Linked DNA regions of Homo sapiens: region 1 is linked to region 2. The links are contacts of gene promoters, found by promoter capture Hi-C in human tissues and cell types (Jung and others, 2019). All regions are on one chromosome and are shown on one strand. Each heading gives the region's core, a stretch centred on a gene start or on the middle of the fragment in contact. The rest is flanking DNA. Distances are from core to core; before and after follow the strand shown. Region 1 holds the start of PNPLA7 (patatin like domain 7, lysophospholipase). Region 2 holds the start of TOR4A (torsin family 4 member A).

The links. Contacts are between HindIII fragments. The study calls those that stand out against the background at their distance.
Region 1: the fragment with the promoter of PNPLA7 here is called in contact with the fragment with the promoter of TOR4A in region 2 in 1 of the 25 tissues and cell types used here (mesenchymal stem cells).

Annotation. Positions count from the first base shown.
Region 1 is chr9:137,549,152-137,551,651 of GRCh38, forward strand. PNPLA7 (patatin like domain 7, lysophospholipase) reads right to left here and starts at 1,251. Exons shown (of 35, transcript NM_001098537.3): 1 at 1,017-1,251. The coding sequence starts at 1,046. RefSeq lists an enhancer at 360-861 and a silencer at 2,050-2,500. The HindIII fragment of the contact is 18,703 bases long and covers 1-2,500 here.
Region 2 is chr9:137,272,970-137,279,199 of GRCh38, forward strand. It overlaps TOR4A (torsin family 4 member A), which reads left to right and starts at 4,757. Exons shown (of 2, transcript NM_017723.3): 1 at 4,757-4,938; 2 at 5,684-6,230. The coding sequence starts at 5,721. NELFB (negative elongation factor complex member B) reads left to right here. Exons shown (of 13, transcript NM_015456.5): 13 at 1-573. RefSeq lists an enhancer at 1,837-2,016 and silencers at 4,658-4,977, 5,258-5,317. The HindIII fragment of the contact is 16,896 bases long and covers 1-6,230 here.

The DNA.
Region 1 (2,500 bases), core at 1-2,500, 270 kb after region 2:
AGGCCTTTGCCATGTGGCTACAGATGTTTGACTAAGAAAAAGATTCTAGGGCTGGGCACAGTGTCTCACGCCTGTAATCCCAGCACTTTGGGAGGCCGAGGCGGGCAGATCATGAGGTCAAGAGTTCAAGACTAGGCCGGGCACGGTGGCTCATGCCTGTAATCCCTGCACTTTGGGAGGCCAAGGCGGGCGGATCACGAGGTCAGGAAATCGAGACCATCCTGGCTAACACAGTGAAACACCGTCTCTACTGAAAATACAAAAAAATATTAGCCGGGCGTGGTGGTGGGCGCCTGTAGTCCCAGCTACTTGGGAGGCCGAGGCAGGAGAATGGCGTGAACCTGGGAGGCAGAGCTTGCAGTGAGTTGAGATCGTGCCACTGCAATCCAGCTTGGGCGACAGAGCAAGACTCCGTCTCAAAAAAAAAAAAAAAAAAAGTTCAAGACCAGCCTGGCCAACATGGCGAAACCCCGTTTCTACTAAGAATACAAAAATTAGCCGGGCGTGGTGCCTGTAGTCCCAGCTACCCGGGAGGCTGAGGCAGAATTGCCTGAACCCAGGAGGCGGAGGTTGCTGTGAGCCAAGATCACACCATTGCACACCAGCCTGGGCGACAGAGCGAGACTCCGTCTTGGGAAAAAAAAAAACACAGAAAAAGGTTCTAAGCAAAACCATCAGGCAAAGTCCTAAAGGAACTGGAAGTAGCAACTGTGACCTTAGGGGAAGAAAAGACAAGGCCTCAGGCAATGCCCATGGGCCACCGCTGGCTGCCCTCGCTGTGAACAATGCCCATGGGCCACCACTGGCTGTCTGCTGTGACAGGCGCGTCTAACAAGTGCTGGCAGCTGTGACAGGCAGCAGAGAGGGGCCAGATCCACCACTCCCACAGTCCTCAGGCGCCAAGAAGCCACGGGGCCAAAGAGCGCGGCAGAGCAGACGCCAAGAGGACCCTTCTCTGGGTCCAGAAATGCCCCCCAACTGGGAAATCCAGGCATCTGGTCCCCCGAGTTACATACCTGTGGGCTGTCATCTTTCTCTTCCTCCATGGCCAGAAACAGAAAAAACAGTCAGGGGCGAAAAGCAGACAGCCTGAAGCAAACAAGGGCACACCTCTACCCGCTCATGCTCACACCTGGACACTTTTCCCTGGGTTCCTTTCAAGTCAAATTATGTTTCACTGAAAGGAAAATCCTGCTGAAAAAGTCTGTTCTCCAGGAAGAAAAGCTGTCTTTTGAGAAGTGTCTGTCATCTGCTAGGAGCCACCTCCTTCCCTCTGTAAACAGCCCTCACGTGGCTGTCCCGGAACCCAGAACAGCAGCCAGATGGGGCGTATCCAAGCAGGTCAAGAGGAGCCAGGCCCAGCGCGGCGGGGATGGGGGCAGCGCTGCCTTCTGGAGAAGCACGGCTGGAGGGGAGGTGACGCTGGCGGGGCGTGGATCCGGGGTGTGGGGATGCAGCTGGGGAGGAGGGTGCAGCTGGGGAGGGGGTGGATCCGGCGTGTAGGGGTACCGCTGGGGAGTGGGTGCAGCTGGGGAGGGGGTGGATCTGGGGTGTGGGGGTGCCGCTGGGGAGTGGGTGCAGCTGGGGAGGGGGTGGATCCGGCGTGTAGGGGTACCGCTGGGGAGTGGGTGCAGCTGGGGAGGGGGTGGATCTGGGGTGTGGGGGTACTGCTGGGGAGAGGGTGCAGCTGGGGAGCGCGTGGATCCGGCGAGTGGGGGTACCGCTAGGGAGGGGGTGCAGCTGGGGAGGGGGTGGATCTGGGGTGTGGGGGTGCCGCTGGGGAGGGGGTGCAGCTGGGGAGGGGGTGGATCTGGGGCGTGGGGGTGCCGCTGGGGAGGGGGTGCAGCTGGGGAGGGGGTGGATCTGGGGCGTGGGGGTGCCGCTGGGGAGGGGGTGCAGCTGGGGAGGGGATGGATCTGGGGTGTGGGGGTACCGCTGGGGAAGGGCGTGCAGCTGGAGAGGGGATGGATCTGGGCTGTGGGGGTGCCGCTGGGGACGGGGTGCAGCTGGGGAGGGGGTGGATCCGGATTGTGAGGGTGCGGCTGGGGGGCGACTTCCGCGTGGGGTGAGAGGTCGCCTGCGAGGGTGACCGGGCAGGAGGGCTCAGTGCGCAAGCCGGACGTGCTGGGTCCAAGATTATTGATTAATTTGGGCACCGCGAGGGCTCGAGTCCCCCCACACCACTGCCCGGCCTGCGGGGGAGCACAGACAGCCCGGGCCCTCCCGGCTGCAGGTCCCGGGCTTTCCCCGCGCGGTTGCCGGCTCCGCCCAGAGGAGCCGCGCCCGGCGGAGGGGTAAGAAAGGCAGGGTCGCGGCGTCAACGCGGCGGCCGTCTCGAGTCCAGGGCCCGCGTCCTCCCCGACCTCCCGACGCCACCTCACGGCCTCAGGGGGACTGGGCTCCCGGGAAACCGCCGGCCACCTGGCGGACGAACACAGGCAGTGGCGGGCAGTGGAGACGCCAGGGACCACCGCGCTGAGAGCGATCACTCATCCGCCAG
Region 2 (6,230 bases), core at 3,507-6,006:
CGCGGCCCTGCTCAGCCGGAAGAGGCTCCCGGACCTGGATGTACAGGGCAGTCTCTCTTCCCGGGGCTATGGCTGGGCCTGTCCTGCCGTCATGGCCCCCTGCTTCCTGCTCCTTGGAGCTGGCTCCCGGACCTTGCCCACCATCCATGCAGTGGCTCCCAGGGCAGAGCCTCTCCTTGTACTTTGGCAGCCATAGAAAGCGTGCTCATTTTCTGTTTTCCTGTGTTAGGAAAAAACCACCTGTTTTCCAAGGGGAGAGGGCGGGGCCTGAGGGTGGGGGCGGGGCCTCTTCATTGGCCCAGCTTGGCGAAAGCGAGGCACACTGCTTACTGCCTTGGGGTTGTGGAGATGGACCCGTGACCTCGTGGAGGCCGTGTGGGGGCAGCAGCCTGGCCTGTGCCATGGTGGGTGTCCTGGGGCCTGTGCGGAGGGAGCCACCTCACCCTGCAGCCCAGTTTGCAGGTGTGGCCTTGTTTCTCCTTGCCCAGCAGTGCTGCCTTCAGCGGCCGTGACGGGGCCAGCTGGACACACGGTGAGATTTTCTCGTATGTAAATAAAAGGCATTTTGGTAAACGTGGAGGCTGAGATGTCTCTGTGCCTGCCCTGAGGTTGGATGTAGCTCAGATGGACACAGGCATTTGTGCTATGGAGCCAATACTTGGGGCTTTGTGGGCCACAGCCTCTCTGGACTGCTCAGCCCTGTCTGTGACCAGCAGCTGGGGACGATATAATAATTTCTGGGGGAGGTTGATATAATAATTTCTGGGGGAGGTTGATAAAATTTCTGGGGGAGGATATAATAATTTCTGGGGGAGGTTGATATAATTTCTGGGGGAGGATGATATAATAATTTCTGAGGGAGGTTGGCAGGAAGCCCTCACCCTCGGGGCTTTGGTGCCCCTAAGACGCAGATCAGCTGCTTTGTTTTTGTCCTGCGATTCCAGGGGGCACCTCTCACCTCCTGGTGCACACCAGGGACAGGAGCCCTGGAGGCCCAGGATGTGCCATGGGTCACAGGCACAGAGCCAGGGCCATTTCCAGCAGATGAGACCTCAAAGCCGGGCAGCAGTTCATAGCATGCAGGGGCGATGGCCCGGCTGCCAGGTGTCACTGTCCTTGGCTCGCAGCATGCAGGGGCGATAGCCTGGCTGCCAGGTGTCACCGTGTCCTCAGAGACGCCTGTTGGCGAGCTCGCCTCCCTGGAGTGTGAGGCCACAGCTGAGCAGGTTGGGACCTGTTGGGTGAGACAAGCCCATGGTGCTGGGATCTCGTGGGTATGGGAGTCTCTGAGCTGGTATCCTCTGGGGCAGAGCCAGGGACGCCTGGGACTCTGTTGCACCTGTGCATGGGGCTTGTGGTCTACACTGGGAGATCTGTGCCTCAGTTTATTGTGGTCTACACTGCCGGATCCATGCCTCAGTTTATCCAGTCATGTCTCTCCAAGAGCCCCAGGGCAGGCGGAGAAGTCCCAGCCTGAGGGCTTTGGTTGGGAGCTGGGGACCCAGGTGAGGCTGGGTGTCTGGGGCTGGCCTGGCTGGTGGGTGGAGGGCGCAGGTTCTGGGTAGGTGTGAGCAGCAGAGGAGTCTTGGAGGGTCCAGGGCTCTGAACCTGCCCAGGTGGGCTGTGACGGGAAGATGAAGGGCTTGTCTGACAGGCACATGCAATGGGTTTGGGGCTGTGGAGCTCAGAAGAGACTGGGGCCAGGTTGTGGATCTGGATGCTGTCATAGGGAGTGGTGTTTGAGCTACTGACTGGGCCAGATCAGCCCAGGTGAGGGAGAGCAGCCGTGTGCTCTGGGCGGGCCTTCCTGGCCAGCTGGGGCGGGGGGGTGGCAGCTGGCAGCAGATTGGGTGCCCCACAGCCCAGGGAGGAGGGGCTGAGGAACAGTGCTTTGGAGGGAGAGCTGAGGAAGCAGGAGAGGCCTGGAGACCCAGCTGAGAGGCACTAAGGAGTGGGATGAAGGTCAGTTCCGGCCAGGAGTGCGTGCTTTTTTTGCTTTTTTTTTTTGAGATGGAGTCTCGCTCTGTCGCCCGGTCTGGAGTGCAATGGCGCAATCTTGGCTCACTGCAAGCTCCGCCTCCCGGGTTCACACCATTCTCCTGCCTCAGCGCCCCCCCCACCCCAGCATCTGGGACTACAGGCACATGCCGCCACGCCCGGCTAATTTTTGTATTTTTAGTAGAGACGGGGTTTCACTGTGTTAGCCAGGATGGTCTCGATCTTCTGACCTTGTGATCCACCTGCTTCGGCCTCCCAAAGTGCTGAGATTACAGGCGTGAGCCACCGCGCCCGGCCTGGTTTTTTTTTAAAGATAGAAGAAATAGATGTTTCTGGGCTGATGGGAATGACCCAGTAGGGTGAGGAGTGGAGGATGGTCCAGGGGCTGGGCTGTCACTGAATGAGCAGGTGGCCGGGGTCTCAGCACAGCAGGGGTGTCCTCAGAGGAGGGCTGATGGGCGCAGATGCTGGGGTGACGGCTGAGGAGACACTGGGAGTCCACTGCTGCTGCCTCCCATTTTCTCAGGTCTTGGGCTAGGAGGCAGGATAGGGGGAAGTGGCAGGGGAGAGGACGAGTAGAGGACTTGACTGTAGGAGGAATGGTCAGTGAGTGGACCCGGGTGCCTGGTTTGGTCACTGGGCAGCGGGCGCGTCCTGTCCAGGGCGCCTGCAGGGGGTGCCAGGCCTACGGGTGGGGAGTGAAGGACAGAGAGTGAGGAGCCCGTGGGTGAGGGACTGGTGAGGTGGAGGGTGTGAATTGCAAGGACTGGGATGGGACCGTGCGTGGACGGCTGAGCCTCGGGGGCGCATGGTTACTGTAGCGAAAGCCTTTAGGGGCAGAAAGAGCAGAGCTGCCTGAGCGACTGGGTGTGGACGCTGCTGGGAAGTTAGGGAGAAGGACTTGGTAGGGGAGGACCGAGGGCCCAGGCACGGGAGGCATCGTCTGGTGAAGTGAAACCTATGGGGAATTTGGGAGGAGAAGTGGGGAGGCTGCCCACGGTTTGGGGAAAACAACCTTGCTGGCAAGGGCTGGGGGAAGCAGTGAGGGTGAAGTCCTTTCAGAGGCTGAGAACATGTACTGTGTTTGTGGGTGATGGACATGAATTCTGGGCGCAGCGGCAGGGCTGGGTTGGGTAGGGAGGCGGGAGGGGAGGCCTCCTGGAATGGGAATGGGTGTGATTGGGGGTGGCCCTGGGTATCACAGGAGATGGTGATGGCCCTGGGAGCTGGGGTTCTGGGGCTCCCTTCACCCCTGTAGATGGGAGAAAGTGCAGGGGGTGAGGCCTTGGCCCAGGCCTCAGATTCACCTTTGACCCATAGGGCCAGGTCTTGGGGCACCCCTTGAGCGAGTCCCTTTCCTGCAGAGGGCTCTGGCCTGAGGATTTGCTGGGCCAGCCTCTGGCAGAAGCAGCTCCAGCCCTGGGTGCACTTGGAGGCAGGGCAGAGGCTTTGCTGCAGGTTTTCCAGGGCTCGGTCAGCCTGCATCTGCCCGAGGGCCTCCCCTCCAGGGTCCTCTCTGTGTCAGAAGAAGCACCGAGACTCAAAGCCTGAGGCCCCCAAAGGACCCCAACCTCCGTGCTGGGGCCACGGGGCCTGGACAGCCAACCTCCTTCCGCTCTGGTCCCACAGAGGCCGGGGAGTGGGCCCAAAGAGCACCAGCATTCCACCTGGTGTGTGCGGCCCCCGCGGCCTCGACAATTGGGGATCCGGGCCCCCGAGCACCCCTTGCACAGGGGAGGGGAGCCCTAGGCCTGGCTCCTGGAGGGGAGCGTGATAGTCCGGTGGACCCCATACCCTGGAGAGAATGGAAACCCCCAACCCACGACCGGTTTCCCTGATGGAGCCTGTCTGGTTGGGTGCAGTGTGTGAGGAATATACAGCTGGAACCATCAGGCCCGGGCTGGCTGTTGGGAGGAGTGGGGCGTCCCTGGGACTGCGGGGTCCTGAGCTGAATGCCAGCAGCACTGGTGTGGCTGGAGCGGCCACCTTGCCCCTCCTTGGAAGGCGGCTTCCAGGCTGGGCCAGGGTAGGAGGAGTCCAGGGTCCTTTAGGCAGGCCGGCAGGGGGAAGGGCCCAGAGCTCCAGCTCCTGGCTCCCGGCCCAAGTTGTTTCTAAATTTGTTCCCCAACCCCCACAGGGACCCTGAGCCGCACGTGGTTTTTTCCGTGATAGAACTTCCGTCTGTGTGTGCTGGCCTGTCCTGGGCAGGGGGCTCCAGGCTGGGGACGGAGGAAGGGGGAAAGGAAAGACAATGAGCCCACTTTGGGGGGCCCCCGATTGGGGTCAGGAGGGGAATGAAAAAGCGGGGAGAGGAGTAATAAGAGAGGGATTGGGGGTATGCAGCTCGGCAGAGGACCCTGCCCGCCCCCTGTGCTGCTGCCTTGCTCCCGCCTTGCTTACACAGGGCCTGGAGCCCCTCCCCCCAGCTGTAAGCCCTGTGTGTGGGGTGACAGGTGGAAGGGATAACCTGGGGGAGGTGGGGGCCCTGGAGGACAGGCTGAGGTGCAGGAGCCCAGGGTGGGGGCACAGCATGCAGCAGGGGCCCTCGGCCTCACCAGGTGTCCTGAGCCTGACCAAGCCAGGAGGGCTCTGAGCGCTAGAGAACTGAAGCGGGAATGTGACCTCCGGCCAGGGGATCTGGGCAAGCCGGCCAGGCCTCCCCCCTTTGGCGCCTCCGTCCAGCCCAAGTCCCGCCTGGGCCGCACCCCCTGACTCACTTCCTTTGCATAGAAGCGGAAACCTCCCCAGAGCTTCCTCTACTCCGGCCGGCCGCTCCCTGGGGACCCACAGGTGTCGCTGCCCCTCCAGGCCGAAGCTGGCCCAGGAGGCCCCTGGCCCACCCCCTCGCCCTGGGAGGCGCATTTCCTGCTTGGAGTCTCAGGCCCCAGCGTCTGGCACAGGCAGGGGCCTGCGGAGCTGAGGGCAGTGGACCAGCTGCAGGTAGGGGGTGGGTTGGGGCCCAGGGCCCAGTTCCTGCCAGTCAGTGGCTCTCTTGCTCCGACCGGCCTCTTCTTTCTGTCCATCTTTTCGTTTCACCTCCACTAGTCTCCGGGGGGCTCCCTGCACTGCTCAGCTCGTTCACTGGAGGGGTGTTGGGAGGACCCCAGTTTTGGAGTCGGGGCTGGGAGGCCTGGGTTGAGCCTGGGGACGGGGCCCGGGCCTATTCTCAAAATCATAAGTTCCAGCCAGACCCCCGCCAAGTGTTCTGGAGCGTGTGGGGGCGTCTCTGAACTCCTGGGCGCTCAGGCCTCTGCTTCCCGCGGCCCCTCCTTGGGAGACGGCCCAGTCCAGTGGGAGCCGCGGGCGGGGGCAGGGTCCGGGGGTGACTGTTCACCCCAGTGGGCGCCTGGGCGGCCACTGACTCCTTCGACGACTCCTCCAGGAAGCCGGGGCGGCCACCAGATAAGCCTCTACCCCGCCACTTCCTCAAGGCCCGCGGCCGTTTATGGGAAGACCCGAGAGATTTGCATCGGGGCCCTGCGGAGGGGCGGAGGGGCGGAGGGGCGGAGGGGTCGCTTGCCGGTCTGAGGGGCGAGGCCGCGACCAGGCCCCTGGCCCTGGGGCAGCCCGGGCCGCACCCCACGGGACTCCCAGGGGGTAAGATCACTCCGGGGACCGGTTCCGGCGGCCCGCGGGAAAGGGCAGTGGCGGGAGTCCAGAGACCCTCCCCGTCTTCCCGTTGCAGGGAGGGCGACCTGTATGCGGAGCGCCGTTCCTGCGACATGGACCGCGGCCAGCCCAGCCTGGAGCCTGCTGCCGCGGCCCCCCGAGCCTCGGGCCGGTGCGTGATCGCGCCCGTGCGCGCTGTGCTCCGCCTGCGCCGCCGGGTGTGTGTCCTACGCAAACGGCGCCTCCTGCAGCCGGGTGGGGGGCCCGACGTCGGGACCGGGGCGCCCAGGCCGGGCTGCAGCCCCCGGGCACCGCGCGCGGACCTGGACCAGCCAAAGTTCTTCACCTTCGACAGCCCCGCGGAGCTACCCTCCAGGACGCCACGCAAGAAGCGCCGGCGCAGCCGCCTGGTGCTTTACCCGGAGACCTCGCGCAAGTATCGGCCGCGCGTGGAGCACAGGAGCCGCGCGCAGCGCTGCCTTCTGCTGCTAGTCGCCATCGTGGGCTTCCAAGTTCTCAACGCTATCGAGAACCTGGACGATAACGCGCAGCGCTATGACCTCGACGGGCTGGAGAAAGCGCTGCAGCGCGCGGTGTTCGGCCAGCCCGCTGCCGTATCGCGC